Linked DNA regions of Homo sapiens: region 2 is linked to region 1. The links are contacts of gene promoters, found by promoter capture Hi-C in human tissues and cell types (Jung and others, 2019). All regions are on one chromosome and are shown on one strand. The core of a region is centred on a gene start or on the middle of the fragment in contact, and the rest is flanking DNA. Distances in the headings are between cores, read along the strand shown. Region 1 holds the start of BCL9 (BCL9 transcription coactivator). Region 2 overlaps LINC00624 (long intergenic non-protein coding RNA 624).

Region 1 (4,524 bases), core at 546-3,045:
GACAAGTAGCAGAGTCACAGAAAACCTAGAATTAGGTAAGAAAGCAGAACTCCTCCAGAGAATTCAGAGAGAGCTACAACTGAGAGCCTTTAAACAATCAATGTGTAGGAACAGAAGAAAGGAAATCCACAATTCAAGAAAATAAGCAGACATTTTTTTTCCTCAAAAAAAATTGTTAAGATGAATGTTAGGCACTGATTTTAGCCCTCTGTTCCATCCCTCAAGATGTCACTTGAAAAAGCAAAAGGTTTTATCCACAAAACCACCGGCGAGTAAACAGCCTTCACATTCTTAGCCTCGTACACACACAGTAAGATATTTACTCTCTGATAAACAGCAATTGTAAATAAATCTCATTTAATCTCTAAAAGCCACAATAAAAATCTTTAACCTCCAAGGTAGAGTTTACAGATGCGTCTGCATGCCCTGCCAGCCCCAGAAAACACAAGGTCTTGAATAAACTACTATACCAGGAGGCACATTTTCTCGCTCAAGCATCTTACATTGACCTTCTTTAAAACAAAAATACGTACAAGGAGGAGGAAAGGGGAAAACCCAACCCCTCCCACCCCATTCTCTGTACAAATCGGCCAATAAATCTAACGAAAAGACACAAGAGAAAAAGGACAGAAGCCAACAGGTGGAACAAGGCTTTTTGTTTCCTTAGAAATGCTCAGACACTTGATCTGTGCTCCTCAGTCTATTTGTCTCAGGGTGTCTTTAATGATGTTTTTATTACCCTGATGATGATGATCAAGAATAATGATAACACTTCTACTCTGTGATTCCACAGCATCTCTAGCTGACGATTTCTCCACGCGTTTCAGACACAGTGATCTGTTCTGTTTCGCTCAATCCCAGGGAGGCATACAGCATCCCTGATCAGCAACCTTGATTTTACAGATGGGGAAATTGAGGCACGGGGCACCCCACAACTCAACAGTCTCTACGACCAGAGGAATCCCTGAGACTGGAAAAGTTTCTGGATCGTCTTGTGGCAGAGTTCTCTTGCTCTCCCTTCTTGCCTGCCATGCCGCTCCTCCTCGGAGAGTCTGGGCTGGGGTGGTAAGGATCGGGGTGCCTCCCCTTCACAGCGAGGCACGCCAGGGCAGTGTGTGGGAAGTCCACACGCACACACAGACCCACGGGCACACTGGCACACACAAAGCTCGATGCAATCTCTGCAGTCACTCGGCGGAGCCCTGGCCGGCCCTTGCTCAGCCTGAGAATGCACAGCTCGGAGCCTGCAAGGCCTCCCTGGGCTCTGGGCTGGGGTTTCCCTGAACCAAGGCTCTGCCCTTCTCTCCCTCTTTTCCAGGCTTCCCTCTCTCGCGCTCCCTCTCTCTCTCTCTTTTCCCTCCCACCCTCACACCCTCCTCCCAGCCCTCTCCATCCACCCCTTCTCCCCCACCAACCCAGAGGCACAGATCGTGTTACTGGGGTTCCCTCGAAAGAGGGGCCATCCCCAGTCCTGGATGCCTTGAAAGACTTCCAGGGGCAACGCAGGAGCTCCAATCGCAGGACCCCAGCGCTCCTCCAGAGCAGCGCAGGAATGAGACCCCCACTTCCAGGCACAGGCGAACAAGCCTGCCACCGAAGAAGGAATTGTTAGGGCTCTTACCTTTTTTATGAGGAGAAATTCTGGAGAATCATTTCAGAAACTGAGGGGGGAAAGTGAATGAAGACAAAAAAGACCCTTTTCCCGCAATCCCTGGCCTCCTGGTATCAAGACACCAGGACAACATCAAAGCAACTTAGGGGGAACACTTTAGGGGCCTATTGTCTGCTCTGGTCTGATCTGTTTTTCTTCTGACTCCCCCTCTTGCTGCGGTGACACTTGGTACGGCCCAGGCATTCATGCCAAGTAGCTTTCACACATGGAAGCTTGTCTCAAGCAATTGCTGACAAGCCACAAACAAGACATTCTCCCTCCCTTCTCTGCGCCCCCCCACTCCTCCCCCCTCCACCTTTTCCTCCTCCCCTCTTGTCTCCCCTCCTCCTTTCTTCTGAATGCAAACTAAAACTCTCCAGTGACAGGCAGGCTCGCAGGCTTGGCCTAGCTGCGCACGCAGGCACACACACACACACACACACACACACACACACACACACACACACTCTCTCTCTCTCTCTCTCTCTCTCTCTCTCTCTCTCTCTCTCTCTCTCTCTCTCTCTCCTCTCTCTCTCTCTCTCTCTTCTCTCTCTCTCTCTTCTCTCTCTCTCTCAAGCAGCTCAGCTAGTTGCTGCTGCACTGGTGGAGTTAAGAGACAGGAAAAAGCCCAGGCTGAGTTGGGGGCAGGGAGAAAAAGAGAGGGAGAGCGAGAGCAGAGAGCCGCCTCCTGTGTCCTAGTAAAATGGCAGAAGAGAGGTGAGTCCTTTGGAAGAAAAGCAGTGGCCACACACGTGTGCACACATACACAGACTCAGGCCATCTCAGCGCCAGGAAAAGTGAAATAAATGACCCGACAAAGGAAAAAGCAAAGTCCCATTAGCTGGAGATTGGGGGAGTAGGGAGATAAGAGGGTGAGTGGCCCCAGGACTGGGGTTTCTGTTGAGTGGTTAGGTGATTTTTCTTCTTTACAATAGAGAAAAATTTGTTTCCTAAGGATCTAGCCTTCTTTCACTGCATAATTGAGCATGGACTTGAGCTACTAGTTAAAATAAAATCATGAAATGTGTAAATGTGTGAGTAAACTTAACTGTAGGTTCAACTTGTACCCAAGATATTTTTAAAGTGAAGCTTTTTTTATTTTTTTTTATTTTTTATTTTAGCAGAAACCCTAGAGAGCAGTAGCAAGGAGAGTAGTAACAAGTAGTGTAAACTAGGAGAGCTGTGAAGTGTGATGCTAAAGTTACTGATTGCCAGGCTGCTGGAATTTATGGAGGGTGGGCCTGAGAGTTGGAGGAGGGGAGGGTGAGTGTGCTGTTTTCTAGGAATAAGAGGGGAATGAGGTAGGATAATGAATATGGCAAGAAACAAGCAGGAATTTGATTGGTGTGGAGGGAGGAGGTGGGGGCTGTAAAGGAGTGGAGAGAGAGAGAGAGAGAGAGAGAGAGAGAGAGAAACAACACTGCATTAAAAAAAGAAGAAAAATGGAAGCCCAGAAAGATTGAAACATGCAGAGTAAATGAGATGGTAAAAGAAGGCATAAAATGTGAGCAAAAAGGAGCACAAAGGATGTGCAAATTTGCAGATGGCATGAAATCAGGAGGGCCAATTGAGATCAGGAAGAAGAATGACAGGATGATTATATGACATTCATATTTTTAGATACTGTGGACTCACAGACCTAACAAGGTCTCCTCTGCCTAGGCCAGAAGAGTTATCCCTATGCAACAGGATCTGAATGGAAGCTTAGCTCCTAACTGCTGCTGAATCAGTTCTGTACTTTTTCATGAAGATTGTTTAGACTCTATTCCTCAGAATCTTCCTTTACAAAATGGAAATTATGAGAACACACATCACTCATTCCTTCATAGGTATGCAGTAAAGAATAAATTATGACTTCTTTCATACTTAACACCAGCTAAATGAGGTGTCACTACCTAAAACTCACCACATCAAAGACACAGACTTGTTCCTGTTATTTTCCCCCTTAATTTGCTCCTCCATTATCCCTGATCCCTGAACTGTCTGTCCCGACTCCCATTAATGATGATGATGTGGTAATATAATAATAATAATAATAACCTTTTTTTAAGTATTTACTTGATTCTTAGCATTTTCCCACTCATTTGTATCATGAAGTAATTTTTGTTATGATCATTTCCATTTACAGATGATAGAAAAACGAGGCACAGAGAGGTTAAGCAACTTGTCTGAGGTCACACAGCAAGGCAGAGGTAGAGCTGAAATCCAACTGAGGCCTGTGTGATTCTAAAGCCCCAGCGTTTACCCGCCATATTATGCCTTCTCACTGGAGTAGTCCAGGTACTCCATGGCACTTCAAGTCCAGTCAGCCATATAAGTACACTGTTTTTTCTGTACCCCAGGGTTGGGTTTGGATCCTTTCATTTTGAGCCAGGGGAACTTCTGACCTCCCCTTAATAGGCTACTGACTCACTGTCCACTTCTAAGTGGTGGTGACTCACTATACACAATGAGGCCTCCCAGGCAAGAATTGCATAAAGGGTCGACTTAACCTTCAATGACTGCACTATTTTCAGATTGCTAGGCAATAGAGAAAGGCAGCTAAGACCAGAAAAGCTTCCCTTTCTTAAGTATAAAAAATTTTTTTAAATAAAAAAGCAAACTAAAAAGGCCCATAGATATTGATGATAATGGTGATGACAGCAACTAACATTTATTAAGAATTTCCATATATTAAACAACCCCATACAGTGTAAACTATCAGTGTGTCTATTTTCTAGATGAAGGAGCTGAGGCACAGAAGTGAAGGAGCGTGTTAAGGTAATCCAGCCAGGAAGTAGTGGCTGAGATATGGCCCCAGGTGGTCTGCCTTTCTAGAGACCAGGATCCCCACCACTATGCTGTACTGCTAAGGCAGCAAAAAGACTTGTTCC
Region 2 (4,524 bases), core at 762-3,261, 36 kb after region 1:
TGAGAGGTAAAGAAGACGACATTGAGCTTTCTCACTTGGGCAGTTGGCGGATGGCAGTTGGTGGATGGCAGTGGGTGGATGACTTTACTGAGGTAGGAAGCCTGAGAGGAAAAGCAGGTTTTGAGGGAGAGTTGACTAATGCAGTTTAAGACATGTCATGTCGGAAACATCATGTATCACACTGTCCAGTAAGTAGTTGAAGACAAAGATCTGGATCTCAGGAGAGGAGCATGGGCTGAAGATGGCAATATGGAACTATTGCTACATGGTTGGTTATTAAAGACAAAGAAGTAGCTGAGATTGCCAGGGAGAGTAGACAGAGGAGAAACAGGCCCAGGATAGAGCTCCAAGGAACTTCAAAAGTAAAAAGAAGAGAAGGAGAACCCATAAAGGAGTTGAAGAAGCATGTTGTTCTGTTGAGAGAGTATATTCTGGCCATATGTCTCTGGGCAAGTTAGGTCACCTCTCTGAGCCATGGTCTTTTCATCTCTAACAAGGACAGTAATAGCACCTACCTTACGGAGCAGTACCTAGAAAGTTTATCGCAATTCTGGCACATAGTAAGCATCAATTAAGGTTAGCTCATGTTTTAGTAAGAAGAATGATAACAATGAAAAAAAACAAGTAGAGTACTCAGAAGAACATGAGATGAAGTTGATGGCATGAGGGAAGAGTGTTGAGACAAGAAAAAACTGGTCAATAAGGACAAATGGGCCAGGTGAAGTGGGTCACGCCTGTAATCCCAGCACTTTGGGAGACTTGAGATGGCAGGATCTCTTGAGCCCAGGAGTTCAAGGCCAGCCTGGGCAACAAAGTGAGACCTTGTCTCTGCAAAAAATAAATACATAAATAAAGACAAATGTACTGAGGTCAAAATAAAAAGGCTGAAAACAGTCTATTGGATTTGGCTGTAGGTAGGACATTGATGACCTTTGCAAGGTATGTTTCAGGAGCATGGTCTGAGATGAGAAGACCTGGAGATAGTAATTTTGGGAGAAATGGATTTTCAGACGAGTTCGGTAGTTAGGCTGAGGACACACAGCCAGTGAACTCTGTTGTCACATAGTGACCCGAACTCAGATTGTCAGACTCCAAATTTTGTTTTCTTTCCACCTATAGGACCCAAGGAAGATAATTTAACAAATAAACCTAACTCCATGATTTCTGCTTAGTTAACTGAGGAGAGGAAGGAATGAAAAAAATAAAAATAGAAAGAAAGGATGGGGTATGGGGAGATAGGAATATATAGCAAGGCACAGAATTTGTCAGGAAGGGTAATTAGGCAGACCCATTCCCAGGAACGGGAGGAAGTTGAATATAAAATCAACAAATGTTTCTTGAATGCCTCTCACGTGTCAAGCCTGTGGGGACTGCAGATGAAACAGAGACATAAGACACGACTCTTGCTTCCAGGAACAAGACATAAACATGAGAAAAATTTAAGTGCTGAACAGTTGTTTAAGGCAACAATGGAAGAGCTGCCACAAAGCAATATATGATTTATTGTCAAATGAATTGTAGCAAACAATGAATGAAAAAACTTCTTCAGAATTTGCCAAGGAAAGCTCACTCAGTTTCAGGTAGATGAACTGGACCCCTAAGCAGCGCCAGGTATGGGGGTCCCTGGGATTTGTGCCAAGAGATGGGGCTGCCCCTGCTAGTGGAGGGTAATAAACCTTGTGGCGTAGGCCCAGAAAAGCTGGGTGCCCTATAACTGGGCTATAGGATGAGAACACTGGTCTCCACCTGGCTCGGTGTGTGTGTGTGTGTGTGTGTGTGTGTGACAAAAATTGGAGAAAGACACATAGAAACAGATACGTACACACAGAGACATGGAAAAGGGTAGATGATGAAAGATAGGGAAAGAATGCCTGGCACATAGCGGCTCATTGGATAAATGAACACACAATCAAAGGAGATTCAAAGCAAAGTGTATGAGAGAGGCTGAGCCACATATTGGGAAATCTTTGAATCAGACTCAATCATGACTCTTTTTACCTGTGTGCATTTAGGCAAGGTTACTTGACATTTCTGGGTTTCCTTTTCTTTGCCAGACAGGAATAACAACATCTACTTTACCAGGCTGTTGTACCAGGACTGAATTGAATAACATGTATATAAATTACCTGGTACACGGTCTGATCCGAAGTCCATGCTCAATAAATGTCAGTTGTCAATGGCAGTTCAAGGTGCTTACAGATTGTCACCTTTCACTGAAGAAGTTTGAGATGCTTTATAAATATTAGCAGATGAAGTCTCACAAGACACTGAAAAAGTGGAAAACAAATGTTATCATCCTTATTTTATGCATGGAGAAGCTTGGCACTGAGAATCAGGGTTTTGCCAGAGGAATAAGCAATTCTGTGGGAGGATGGGGGAGGGAGGGGGATGAAGCAAAGCCTCAACAAAGATTCTCAAACATGGCCTGCCTTCCGTACCCGCCCTCCAGCCAGCTAGCCAGCAGGTGGTAGGGTCAGATTACATTTGCTCTCCCCTGCCTGGTCTCTAGCTCTGACTGGGGCTGGCTGGTGAGTTTGCAATGATGCAGTGTAACCCTGGGCGTTATTTCTCAAAAAATCAGGCAGCATGAAAGAGGATGAGCTCTGATCAGACCCAGCATTGATTCCTTCTGAGAGCAGTCTACGAGTCAGACTCTCTTTGGCAGCCTTTTCCCACCTCCTCCGTGACAACTTGATAATAGTCCGTCCTGGTGGAATTTTCTCCCCCAGGACATTCCTGCAACTGAGTTGCTTCGCCCTTTCAAAACACAAGTGAGCAGAGCCCAGAAACTGAAACAGCCTTCCGGTCTCATTAGCGCGCTATGTTTCTCTGTTGTTCCGATTTGTTATTGTGGTTCCTGGGTGTGAATATGATCACTTGTTAAAGTGGCCTATTTATACGCGTCTTCTCTTTAATTTACCTTCATTTCTCAGCACCCGAGAAATAGAAGGAAATCAGTGCACTGTGTTAATGATTTCTGTGGCCCTGGTTGCTAGGTGCGAGGGCAGAGGCCCAGACCCTAAGGAGGCTTTCAATATCTGAACCAGTGTCACTGTTGCCTCCTCCAACCCATCCTTCAGCGCACACACCAGGGAAGTACATCGGCGTTATGGCTGACTTGGGTATGAGTTTGTGAGTCAGAAATCAGCTCCTGGAGAAGAGCAGGAGAATTAAGGTTGAATGGGGATTGCACGCCCATGTACACAATTATGGTGCTTTAGAAAGGCCAGCTAGGACGTCTGGAATATAAACCAGGTTGTGAGGCCTTGGAGGGTGCTTGGCACACAGTAGGTGCTCAGCGAGTGGGGGCTGAATGTGACAAAGTAGAACCAGAGCTATGGCAAGAATGCCAACAATGCAGCAGGGCGTGGTGGCTCACGCCTGTTACCCCAGCACTTTGGGAGGCCGAGGTGGGCGGATCATCGAGACCATCCTGGCTAACACGGTGAAACCCCATCTCTACTAAAAAATACAAAAAATTAGCCGGGCATGGTGGTGGGCACCTGTAGTCCCAGCTAGTCGGGAGGCTGAGGCAGGAGAATGGTGTGAACCCGGCGGGTGGAGCTTGCAGTGAGCCAAGATCGCGCCACTGCAGTTCAGCCTGGGCAACAGAGCGAGACTCCATCTCAAAAAAAAAAAAAAAAAAAAAAAAGAAAAAGAATGCCAACAATGCTAGGTTCTTAGGCCTGAGGCTTGGAATACTGATTCATTCCAACTCATCCTTGGCCTTAGTTAAGTCCTTATTTCAGTAGGATAAGAATGTATGTAAAGCTCCAAAATATGTTTCTATTTACATTATAAAGCTCCACAAAGTAGCAAACAGGCACCTTTCTTCCTCCTTTAGAACTCTATTCTTAATTTCTTATTAGGACAGTCTTCCCCTCTGTTGGGAAGCAAGCTCATTTCTTCTGGACCTGCCCTTGGAGGAGATGGAGAGCTCCAGTTCGCTGTCTTTTTTTTTTTTTTTTGAGACGGAGTGTCGCTCTGTCACCAGGCTGGAGTGCAGTGGCGTGATCTCGATTCACTTCAACCTTTGACTCCTTAGTTCAAGTGATTCTCCTACCTCAGCCTCCTGAGTAGCTGGGATTACGGGCATGTGCCACCATGCCCAGCTAATTTTTGTATTTTTAGTAGAGACAGTGTTTCACCATGTTGGCCATGATGGTCTCGATTTCCTGACAGCGTGATCTGCCCACCTTGGCCTCCCAAAGTGCTGGGATTACAGGTGTGAGCCACTGTGCCCGGCCTCGCTGGCTTTTTTAAGGAGCCCTTTATGCACCAATCCATGTAATGCCTCAACCCCCTTTGTCTGCAATTCCTAGTCTTATTTCCTTCCATGTTTGTCAGTAATCTCATTAACCAAATATTTACATCATCCTTTTGCCCCTGCCACAACTTCTTTCGAGGAGAAATCAGGCTGGATATGATGAGAAGATACCAATACTGGTGCAATCATTATTTCCTACTTGTCTGTCTCACTCCCACCAATTCAGAATTAATAACAATGCCTAAATTAATAGTGCT

What was found. Contacts are between HindIII fragments. The study calls those that stand out against the background at their distance.
Region 2: a contact is called between a fragment that was not itself captured here and the fragment with the promoter of BCL9 in region 1, in 1 of the 25 tissues and cell types used here (thymus).

What each region holds. Positions count from the first base shown.
Region 1 is chr1:147,538,772-147,543,295 of GRCh38, reverse strand. BCL9 (BCL9 transcription coactivator) reads right to left here and starts at 1,795. Exons shown (of 10, transcript NM_004326.4): 1 at 1,622-1,795. RefSeq lists enhancers at 1,750-1,809, 1,370-2,124, 1,843-2,137. The HindIII fragment of the contact is 6,993 bases long and covers 1-2,341 here.
Region 2 is chr1:147,503,104-147,507,627 of GRCh38, reverse strand. All of the region lies in intron 3 of LINC00624 (long intergenic non-protein coding RNA 624), which reads left to right. Among named protein-coding and RNA genes, the nearest start is that of LINC00624, 13 kb to the left of the region's middle. RefSeq lists enhancers at 2,225-3,070, 3,071-3,918, 3,919-4,524. The HindIII fragment of the contact is 4,397 bases long and covers 1-4,209 here.